Regions from separate parts of the Homo sapiens genome. Here region 2 is linked to region 1. Evidence: promoter capture Hi-C in 16 types of primary human blood cells and fetal thymus (Javierre and others, 2016). All regions are on one chromosome and are shown on one strand. Each heading gives the region's core, a stretch centred on a gene start or on the middle of the fragment in contact. The rest is flanking DNA. Distances are from core to core; before and after follow the strand shown.

Region 1 (5,027 bases), core at 1,690-4,189:
CAGCTTCTCATTGGCAGGCACGAGTTGGAGGAGGGGGCTTTGGCCTCACGCTTTGATTTTAGACTGTGAAACGGCTCAGTGCCCCCGGCTCAGAGCGGATTGACTGTCTCTCGTTCTCCAGGGACGAATTAATGGAGAACGATCAGTTAATTAACAAACCCTCATTCCGGCTTTTACCTTTTCTCTTCGCCAAGGCTCAGGCCTGGGCGCTGGGCTGAGATGGAGGTGGAGGTGGGGGGTGGGGGAGTGGGGGGGGAGGGGGCATGGACCAGGAGTCAATCAACTTGGCAACCGCCGGCCGGATCTCATCAAACCCAGGCCACCCTCCGCTGTCCTTAGCTCTACCTCCCCTCATGTTCTCTACCCTCAAGGGTCGCCGAATCCTCCTGAAATCCCCGGTGGGGTTCGGGCTGGGCTCAGCTTTCTTCTCTGCCTATCCGCGGTCTCGGGGAGCCAGGCGCGGTGTCTGCGCTGCGCCAAGGAGAGCTTCCAGCTGAACTCAGAAACACCTGGGGCTTGGGGTTTCGGGCAGGAGACCTCTGCTCCTAGACTTGGGGGTCATTTACACACTCTCATCCCCAAACCCCCCTCCCGCACGGGGATTCAGACGAAAATCGCGAAGAGGAATAATAAAACAAAATGCAAAGTCCTCAGGGAGTCGGCAGCGGAGTCGGTCCCAGGACATGGCTATTGCTTTGCAGCTCTCACTGGGACCTTGGGACGGTCAGCCTCCCTCTCCTTTCCACAGCCAATTCCATGCGCAGAGAGCGTCCTAACCCTTACAACTCGTCTGTGCTACACACCCACCGCCCAATGGCTCTGAAACTTTTTGCCCATACTCTTAGATTGAGGTCACCCCAGCCAGCGCCAAAAGAATGAGCGCGGGAGGGGGTCACAGCAGCCAGTTCGGCCAAACATCGACGCTGCTCCGGCACGCTCCAGCCCAGCGCCTGGGATGTGTCAGAGGTACCTGCGAGGAACATTTGCGTGCGATTCCACGCACGCGTTGCATCCCTCTTCCCAAACCCGGATCGCTGAACTGAGAGGTGGCGCAGAGTGTCTCACCAGGTGCGGGGATTTCTCTCCGCCTCAGGCCGTACGAGCTTCCCTCGCTGTCCCTGAGCGCAAATGAGCCTCTTCAGTCGCCGAGGCCCGGCCGCTTAGCTCTCGGAGCCTTCCACAGCCCAACACCCTGAGCCCTGGAGTAGGCAATTTGCTCCCACAGCCCTGTGCTGGCCCTTCCAGGCACAGGGAGTCCCCCTTCTAGGGGTAGGGGCGGGCGGGATGAAGCGCACCCAGCCCTCTCTCCTACCCTTCCTCCTTTGGTCCCTTCGGCTTTCGTGTACCTTATCTCCCGCGCGCCCAGCTCCTTGGCCGGCTCACCTGCTAAGCGGAGCGCGGACATGCGCTGGAACTCCGGCTCCTGCAGCCACTTCCACATCCTCCGGAAGGTCTCCCGGCCGGATTTGAGTTTGCTCCAGGGTTTGGGGTTGCGCAGCAGGTCCGAGAGGGTCCCCTGGGAGCGGCAGAGCACCCTCTGCGCGAAGATGGCCTGTGGGATGCTGTAGCGCTTGAGCTCGGTGGTGATACGCTGCGCCACCTCTTTGGTATTGATCTCTTCCATCTGCCCTGAATTACTTCCATTGCTGACCTGCGCGCCGGTCACCGAAGGGTTGGGCTCCCGGGCTGTGCCCAGGAGTTGCCCGTGGCCCTGGGCGTTCAGGTGGGCGTGGGGATGGTGCGGAGGAAGGCCGTTGATGGGCACCATGCCGGCCGAGGTGGGCGTGAGGTGCTGCTCCCCGTGGCGGCCGAGCATGGCCGGGTGGTGGGCTTCGAAGCCGTTGGGGGTGAGCATCTTGTCGGTGGGCATGGCGGCCCCCGGGTGGGCATAGTGGGGGAGCCCTTGCTGGGAGTTGTGGATGCTGCCCAGACCGGAGCTGGAGAGGGGCGAGAGGCTCTGGCCCATGCCGGCCACGTCCTTGTGGTAGGGGGTATAGAGGTTATTCATGGAGGCCAGCCCGCGCTCATCCCGCATGAGCGTGAAGCTACCGCTCACGTTGCCCGCCAGGCGCTGGTGGTGGTGCGGGTGGTGGTGGTGATGGTGGTGGTGGTGATGGTGGGGGAACTTGTCCGAGACTGTGGAGATGGGAGGCAGCGGCTGCAGAGGGGTCAAGGTGGTGTAGGTGGTGGGCATGCTCATACCTGGGGGAGTCTCGCAGGCCATGGTCATGGTGGGATGCAGGGGGCCGGCCAGGCTGTGCTCAGGGGCCCGGTGGTGGTGGTGGTAATCTCCGCCGCCGCTGCCGCCGTCCAGCAGGGACGCCATGCCCATGGAGCGCGGGTGCGCGGGGGGCAGGTGGCTGCCGCGGTGCGCCACGGAGCTGCGCGCGTGGGGGCTGCCGCCCAGCAGGTCGGCAGGGGCGGGCACCGGCTCATGGCTCACCCCGTGCAGCTCGCCGATCGCTTCCATGGTCAGCTGCGCGTTCATCGTGATCCGGGCGAGCAGGCGGCGGACACAACATCGATGTGGCCAGGCAGAGGCGGCGAGGGGCGCACGGAGTCCGGTCTTCACATCGGCTGCTGGCGACTGTTGCCTTCCTTCCTCTCACTGTGGGGCTCTGTCTCTCTCTCTCTCTCTCTCCGTGTGTGTGTGTCCGTGTGTGCGTGTGCGTGTGTGTGTGTGTGTGTGTCTCGCCTTCCCTCTTACCCCCCACCTTCCCCTCTGCGTCCTCGGCTTTTTTTTTTTTAATATTAATTTCCAAAGAGGATCCGCGCCGTTGGGAGAGCGCAGTGCCCCAGCCCGCCCGCCTCGGCCACCTCTCGCCCCTCTCTTTCTTAAAATTCTGAGGTCTCCGGCTCCCCTGCCGCGGCCCGCGCGCCTGCCGCGTCTGCTGCCTGCCCGCCCCGCTGGCCAGCTTGAGCCATGGCTCTGTTACTGTTACAGACTCTGTGGCCGCGGTTCGGTAGCCGCCGCCGCCGCCGCCGCAGCGGCCCGCCCTCACGCCCGCCAGGCGCAGCGCGCATGCGCGAGGCCCGCCCCCGCCCCCTAGGTCGCGGCGCGCCAGGCCCTTGGCGTCCCGGTACAAATGAAGGAGGGGGCCCAGCGCCTTCCCTGCGGCGCTGGATGGCCAGGGAGCTGCGGGCACGTGCGAAAGATTGGCGCAGAGCGCGACCTGGGGCCGCCGCTGCAATCCCAGGAGACTCGCGCCTGGCTCGCTCGCCTCCCTTGCTTGAGTGGGCTCTGTCCTCCCAGCCCGGGGACGCTCGTGTCGGGCTTCTAGCGGCTGGAGTGCTGTGCTTGGAGACATCGCCCCTCTCTCTCCAGTTGCTGCTTCCCGGTGCAGCTTGCCCGGGGAGCTGGGGACTGTGTCATCACCCCTTCGGCTCTAGCCCACTAAGCTTTATTTCCCGGGGGGCTGCTGGGAGTGCGCTTTCCCACCCTTGAATTCACGGCCTATTGGGGGATGGGGGTTGGGGTGGGGTGGGGTGCAGATTGCTTAAAGGGCTGGGTCCGTTTGGCGGCCGTTGACCCGGCACCCTTCGTCCTCCCAGATACATACTTGCCCACCCTTTCTCATCCATGCCCTGGGGAGAGGAGTAATCAGTGCCAAGAATCCCAGTTCGGGCCATACCTCACTGTCCCCCGCCGCCTGGCTCCTTCTCCCGCTCAGCTCATAATTAAGGCTGTGCGTCCGCTTCGCCGATGACTCGGCCTGTGGAGGGGGGCGAGGGAGAGCGGAGGGAGTGCCCTGGAGGGTACCCATGTTAACTTCCGGGTGCTGGTGGGGCCGTGGAGGCTCGGGCCGTCCCTGCGGTTACTCCCAAGGCCCTCCTGCTAAAGCACCCGGAGGCGGTTGCTTTCCAGAAGTACTGACGCAGACAGGGTGGACGCCGGCGCGCGGGTCTCCGCTTGGCCCCTAGGGACGCCCTTTTCCCGGCGTCCCCGAGAGACGCCTCCAGATTTGAAAATCAATTCAGCTTCGGGAGTAATTTCGCCCTTCCCACAGTCACGCTCCAATCTGGAATCGAACCTGGTCTTTGGGCCTGGTGGGGACGTGTGCGGAGGCCCCCAGTTTGAGACGTACACCCGGCCGCCACATGCCGCGGCTTTCTTTCATTTACAAAAGAAAGAAAAAAAATCCGCAACAAAAGGCAGAGCCGTGTCCGCTTAGGTGCTTTCATCCCTCAGAGAAAGGACAGATGTGCCCATTGTCCAGCCCGTGGCAGTTATGGCCGGGTCAGCGCCGAGCCTCAGCCCCAGGCAAGCGGTGGTTACAATGAGAATAGCCTCTCAGAGCCGGGGTATCTGGACTCAGATATGGAATAAAGTGTGTGTAGCCTGTGCTGGGCCAGACTCAGACTGTAGGTTTGCTTGCTGGGGCACCGAACTGCAGCCCACCCGTGGTGTTTCCACTGCAAATGCTCCCAAGCCCTTAGAGAGGCCAAGGCTGTGGTAGTGGTGGTAGTTGGGTTTCCAAGGCAAAAGTTTGGGCTGGCCAACCCTTTGGGAAAAGTTCCCACCGGCCCAGGCATGAGTAGGCCTATCTCTTTGCCCAGGTCCCTGCTACCACCAGGGCAACATCCTAATCCAGGTAGGTCAAGTTCAGTGGATACAGTCAACGTGACTTCCTTGAAGGCGGCCATGTCCTGGGACTGGTTAATCTAGCTGGTTTTATCACCAGAGGCACTCCCATCCTGTCCAAACAATGCATATGGAGGCCCTGCAAATAATTCATCTCAATGGATTTCATGTCTACTTTCATAATGAACAGTTAGGAATTTAGGAACCCCCAGAGAAGAAAAGATATTTTAGGGAAAATACACTGATGTAAAGGAACTCAGAAAACACGATTAACTCTTTAAACTTGTATCTATATCTACCTATTCATACACGCATACACACAAGCACAAAACATATATTTCCTGCCTAGTATATTACAGTACCTTGGTGGAAAGCTGCATCTTTGGTTTTTAATTGTTTCCATTCTCATTTCCTACAGCATGAGACCAAACAATGGGTTAAAGTA
Region 2 (5,027 bases), core at 1,411-3,910, 920 kb after region 1:
TTTCACTGGCTTCTAGGCTTTCTCGCTTTTAAGATACAGAAACATCTATGGTTGTTTAAACAAGAATTACTGGTAAAAGACCTATAAGCTTATGTCTTCACATTTTGAGAAACAAAGCAAGGTAACTTCCCATGAGATTAGTTATTTTTTAATTGTTGTATTCTTTCCTCATGGTTATACATAACATTGAAATTTTCAGGAACAAGAAGCCCCTAAAGGGCACAACTGATCATTGGCTTTCAGGGCAAACTGTGCTTTGTAAAAATGCATTCAAAGCTAAGGAGGAAAGACCAGATCCTTTAAAAAATAACTGAATATGCTTTTCTGAGTAAGCCCCAATACTGTTTTTGTGATCGACAGCAAAACAGGAACCTATTACTGCCCACAAATAATTTTAGAAATAGTGGTTGATGCATGCCGTAATTATAAAGTTTGCTTGTGTCCCAGTGGCACTTGGGGTTCTAATTTTTGGCTGACAGTTTCTTAATCAAGTTTTCACAACAAAACCTCACAGATATGTTAAAGGGACAATCACTGAACTATAGGATTTCCAACAGCTATGCTGCCTAATTAAGCAAACCATCATTCTGTTAAAAGTAGCATGCTTCCTTGGTTGACACATCAATAATTCAAAACTCTTCCACTCTCCATGAAATAACGTTTATGGATAATTAACTGATGACAAAGTCCAAAGGCTCAGGGAAAAGAAACACTTTGGATAACACTACTGAAAGAAAACAACTGCTTAAATTTTCAGGCTTCCTAGAATGTCAGAGGTATGATTCAGTCAAGTAATAAGCTCACATTTATATTCTCAACTCTCTGCCAAAAGCATAATTATATTTGTTTTAACAAGAAAATTTATTCGTAAGAATAGCTAAATACATCTGAAAATGATATCAATATATGATTAAAGAAACAGAACATAAAACATTTCATAAAGTTTAAAAATTGGAGTAGATACGTAAAAATGTTAACAATGTTTTGTCACACCATTTATCACAAGGGTCAGTGAAAAAATGTGTGGTGTGTGTGTATGTGTTTGTACGTATACACACACACACACACAAATGCAGAGAGAGAGACAGAGAATGAGAAAGTAAATATAGCAAAATGTTAGCAATTGGTGAATCTAAGTAAAACGTATATGAATAATTACTACACTACTCTTGAAACTTTTCCAATTATTTGAAAATTTTCCAATCAAAATAGGTAAATACATACAACAAAGTAAAAAAAAATCTCAGTGAATATGTACTGCGGTGAAATTAGGAATTTTAATTTCTCCTTTCTTTTTAACATTTATAATTTTCCTATAATAAATACATATTGTTTCATTATAAACTTAAAATACAGACTTAAACATAGCAGATTTTTAAAGACAAAGTTTTCTCTTTGGTAGCCATTGATAATTAAACTTGATTTTCTCATTAACAACTTGATGGGATGCTTCAATTCAATTTTTTCAAGCCTGATTCTGTGACAGACAAAGCAACACTTATCCAAGAAACTGAGTGAAACAGCTTTGAGGCAGTCACTCTTTTCTTGCATTACCTTATTTTCCTGCACAGAAGTAGAGCACAGTAAATGAGGATAAATGGTCTCTTTAAGCACTCTTCCATCAGCAGGGTATATGCTTTTTGAAAGCCCACTGCGTGGCAAAAATAAAAAGCAAAGTTTAGAACTTTGAGGTTCTTTATTCGTTTTTTTTCCCCCTCCCACTTTCAAAAGCCGGATGGTACCGTTCAAGTTTCTAAACTCTAGTTAGAAATTGTTGGGTTAATAATTACAAGTGACTTTTTGAAAACCCAGCACCAGCTGTACAAGTTATACATGGTTAATCTCATTCCTCCATCCCCTGCTGTTTTGTACAAAGGCTGAAGCCTACCAAGCCCAGAGTAAATCTTCTAGTGCCAAAGTTGTTTTGTTCTGGTTTTTGATCATGGGCAGCATGCAGGGATTTTTCCATAATAAACCTCCCAAAGTTCATTTTCTACCTGAATGTTTTGTATGCCGCTCCCATCTGAGCCCACCTGTTCAGCAGCTGATAGATGTAACTGTGACCATCTTCTGTCCAGATGAGGATTCTGTGAGCAGCAATCACTTCTCCACCAGCAAAGAACTGCCCATTTCTACTAACTTCAGTCAGCAGAAGGGAAAAATCACAATAATCATAAACCTAAAATATGAAGTTGATGCACATTATCAAAGGCTTAAATCTAGTCTGCCAATAAGATGAATATAAATTATGATAGTAATAATATAACAACATAGTAAGCGTTAATAACAGACCATACTGTACTCTCATATTAAGATGATATTTTACCATGACTTATTGACTTATATTTATCTTAGGGTAGGTTTCAGGGGATACAGTTCATCTGGTTATATCATTCCAGAGTGTGTACACTAAACATAGAAACCCCAAATCCCAAAATTTCTAAGTAATTTTATTCTTTCCATAATGAGTACTCCAAGTTTTACATTTGAAAATGTATTATGCACATAAAAAATATATATCACGTAAATCTTTTGCTAGACCATATACTTTTAAATCTTTGTTCAAAAATACATTATCACCACACAAGTAAGACTGTATAGTTTTGTTAACTGAGCCAGTTATAAAAAACTTTAAAGAAAAATAAATGTTATGAAATGATGGCAACTTAGCTTTTCTTTCTTCTTGGAAATGTCAGCGAACATATTCACAAGAAAATAACGTTTGTCCCTCTTAAAACAAATGTAGTGACAAAGTAGAAAAAGTAAAACATCTAAAAATATAATCAAACTATGTAGGTGAAAAGTATATTTTTAGTTCTGAAATGTAAACACCAAATTTTGAAAACAATTTAGAGCTAAATATTCATTGTTATTATGGTTTGTTACTAAAATTAGGATATGCTACTACATATATAATATCTTGGGATACAAAACTGTTGCATATACCATGATATTAAATATGTAGTAGTATATCCTAATTTTATTAATTAGAGAGTTAAAAACTGATATGTCAGGCCGTGTCCAGTGGCTCACGCCTGTAATCCCAGCACTTTGGGAGTCTGAGGTGGGCAGATCACGAGGTCAGGAGTTTGAGATCGGCCTGACCAACATGGTGAAACCCGGTCTCTCCTAAAAATACAAAACTTAGCCGGGCATGGTGGCATGCGCCTATAATCCCAGCTACTAGGAGGCTGAGGCAGGAGAACTGCTTGAACCTGGGGGGTGGAGGTTGCAGTGAGCTGAGATCGTGCCGCTGCACTCCAGCCTGGGAAACAGAGTGAGACTGTCAACCACCCCACCGCCAAAAAAAAAAACTGTTACGTCAGTCATAAAAGACACATCATTCCATGTTCTGGTAATACTATTACAGAGAATTTGTATCATATTTAAATCATATTCTTATTTTTGTACAAAACAAAAAAAATTACACTTGTACATCACTGGTATTTATTATGTTACTTTATAATACCTTCCAACATTTAGAAAATACCACCAATAGAAGTCTCTCAGTATATGTGCAAAATCGAATTGTCTGGCAGTTCAAGGACTCAAGAAACTTGGATTCTTTTTCATAGACATCTTGCTTTTCCTTCAAAAGGAAAGAAAATCTTTTAGTACTAGTTCCAGGTAATTCATACACAGCCATGAGAAGACCTGCTTCCCGTACATCTCAAGTAGATCACACCATTATAAAACGAAAAGTATCTGAGTTACCTTTTGAGTGTTTTGAACTAAGAAGTTACTTGGCAATAGAAGCTGTGTACCTGGGTGATGAAATAATCTGTACACCCAACCCCCACAACACTTAATTTACCTGTATAACAAACCTGCGTATGTACTCCTGAAAGTTTAAAAAAAAAAAAATTAAAAAATATAGGATGTATTTCTTGAAAAAAAAAAAAAGCTGTGATCAGGAAATCCACTTAGATTCAAGGGCTCATTACATGCAACCATTCAACAAACATTCTTTGGGGAACTACGGCTGGATGCTGAGAATGTCAAGATGAGAATAAGCTACAGACTGTTAGATATGGCAGAAAGGTCAAACAAAAAAATCTAAAATGATGACTAAAAAAACCTACAGTATTTTATTTTATTTTATTTTGTTGTATTTTATTTTATTTTATTTTATTTTATTTTATTTTATTTTATTTTATTTTTTCCTTGAGACACAGTCTTGCTGTGTCGCCAAGGATGGAGTGCAGTGGCAGGATCTCGGCTCACTGCAACCCCCGCCTCCCGGGTTCAAACGATTCTCCTGCCTCAGCCTCCTGAGTAGCTAGGATTACAGGTGCACTCCACCACTCCCTGCTAAATTTTTTTTTTTGTATTTTTAGTAGAGACGAGGTTTCACCATGTTGGACAGGCTAGTCTTGAACTCCTGACCTCTGGTGATCCGCTCGCCTTAGCCTCCCAAAGTGCTGGGATTACAGGCGTGAGCCACTGTGCATGGCCTAGTATTTTGATTGCTTAAACAGAAAAAAAATGAACAAAGTGCCAACACACAGCACATAGAATAGTACGTTCTCAATAAGTTTGTGAAAATGCTGGATGTGTATTTCTTAAGCTCAGCATACCATCACAATTCCTAGGCTTCCTCAACCAATAAATTCCTAAAAAGACCCCAGAACTCCTTGGGGAAGCCTAAATAATTTTGTCATCAACACACATAGTATGGCTGTTCTTTTGTCCATCATCTCAACTTGTAGCCTGATGCCAGTGAATAGATGAATATACTGGACTCCCCAGGGACATGCCCCTCAAGTTTTTAGGGTCATTTGCTTGCCACTGTTCACATATACTCAGAAAAAAGGGGGATTTCCTCTGTAACGAACAGAGAGATGTTCTATTTTTTAAAAGATTAAAAATGTAATCTTTCTGTGTGTGTGTGTGTGTGTGTGTAAATGAAAACATTTGTATATACATGGAGAAAAGGTTGGAAGGATACAAGCCAAGTGTACCAAGGCTCACCCCTGGGAAGATGGATGGGGGAAATATATGGAAGTAGAATTTATACACTTCTATGT

What was found. The method cuts DNA at HindIII sites, captures the fragments that hold promoters and counts their contacts. A CHiCAGO score of 5 or more calls a contact.
Region 2: a contact is called between a fragment that was not itself captured here and the fragment with the promoter of ONECUT1 in region 1, in 1 of 17 cell types (megakaryocytes). The highest score is 7.6, in megakaryocytes.

Annotation. Positions count from the first base shown.
Region 1 is chr15:52,787,397-52,792,423 of GRCh38, forward strand. ONECUT1 (one cut homeobox 1) reads right to left here and starts at 2,940. Exons shown (of 2, transcript NM_004498.4): 1 at 1,384-2,940. The coding sequence starts at 2,488. LOC105370824 (a long non-coding RNA gene) reads left to right here and starts at 3,034. Exons shown (of 2, transcript XR_001751550.2): 1 at 3,034-5,027. RefSeq lists enhancers at 2,936-3,230, 3,227-3,995, 3,996-4,763 and a silencer at 2,978-3,047. The HindIII fragment of the contact is 8,870 bases long and covers 1-3,397 here.
Region 2 is chr15:53,709,303-53,714,329 of GRCh38, forward strand. It overlaps WDR72 (WD repeat domain 72), which reads right to left. Exons shown (of 20, transcript NM_182758.4): 7 at 3,470-3,589; 8 at 2,034-2,179; 9 at 1,555-1,651. Among named protein-coding and RNA genes, the nearest start is that of WDR72, 48 kb to the right of the region's middle. The HindIII fragment of the contact is 5,149 bases long and covers 87-5,027 here.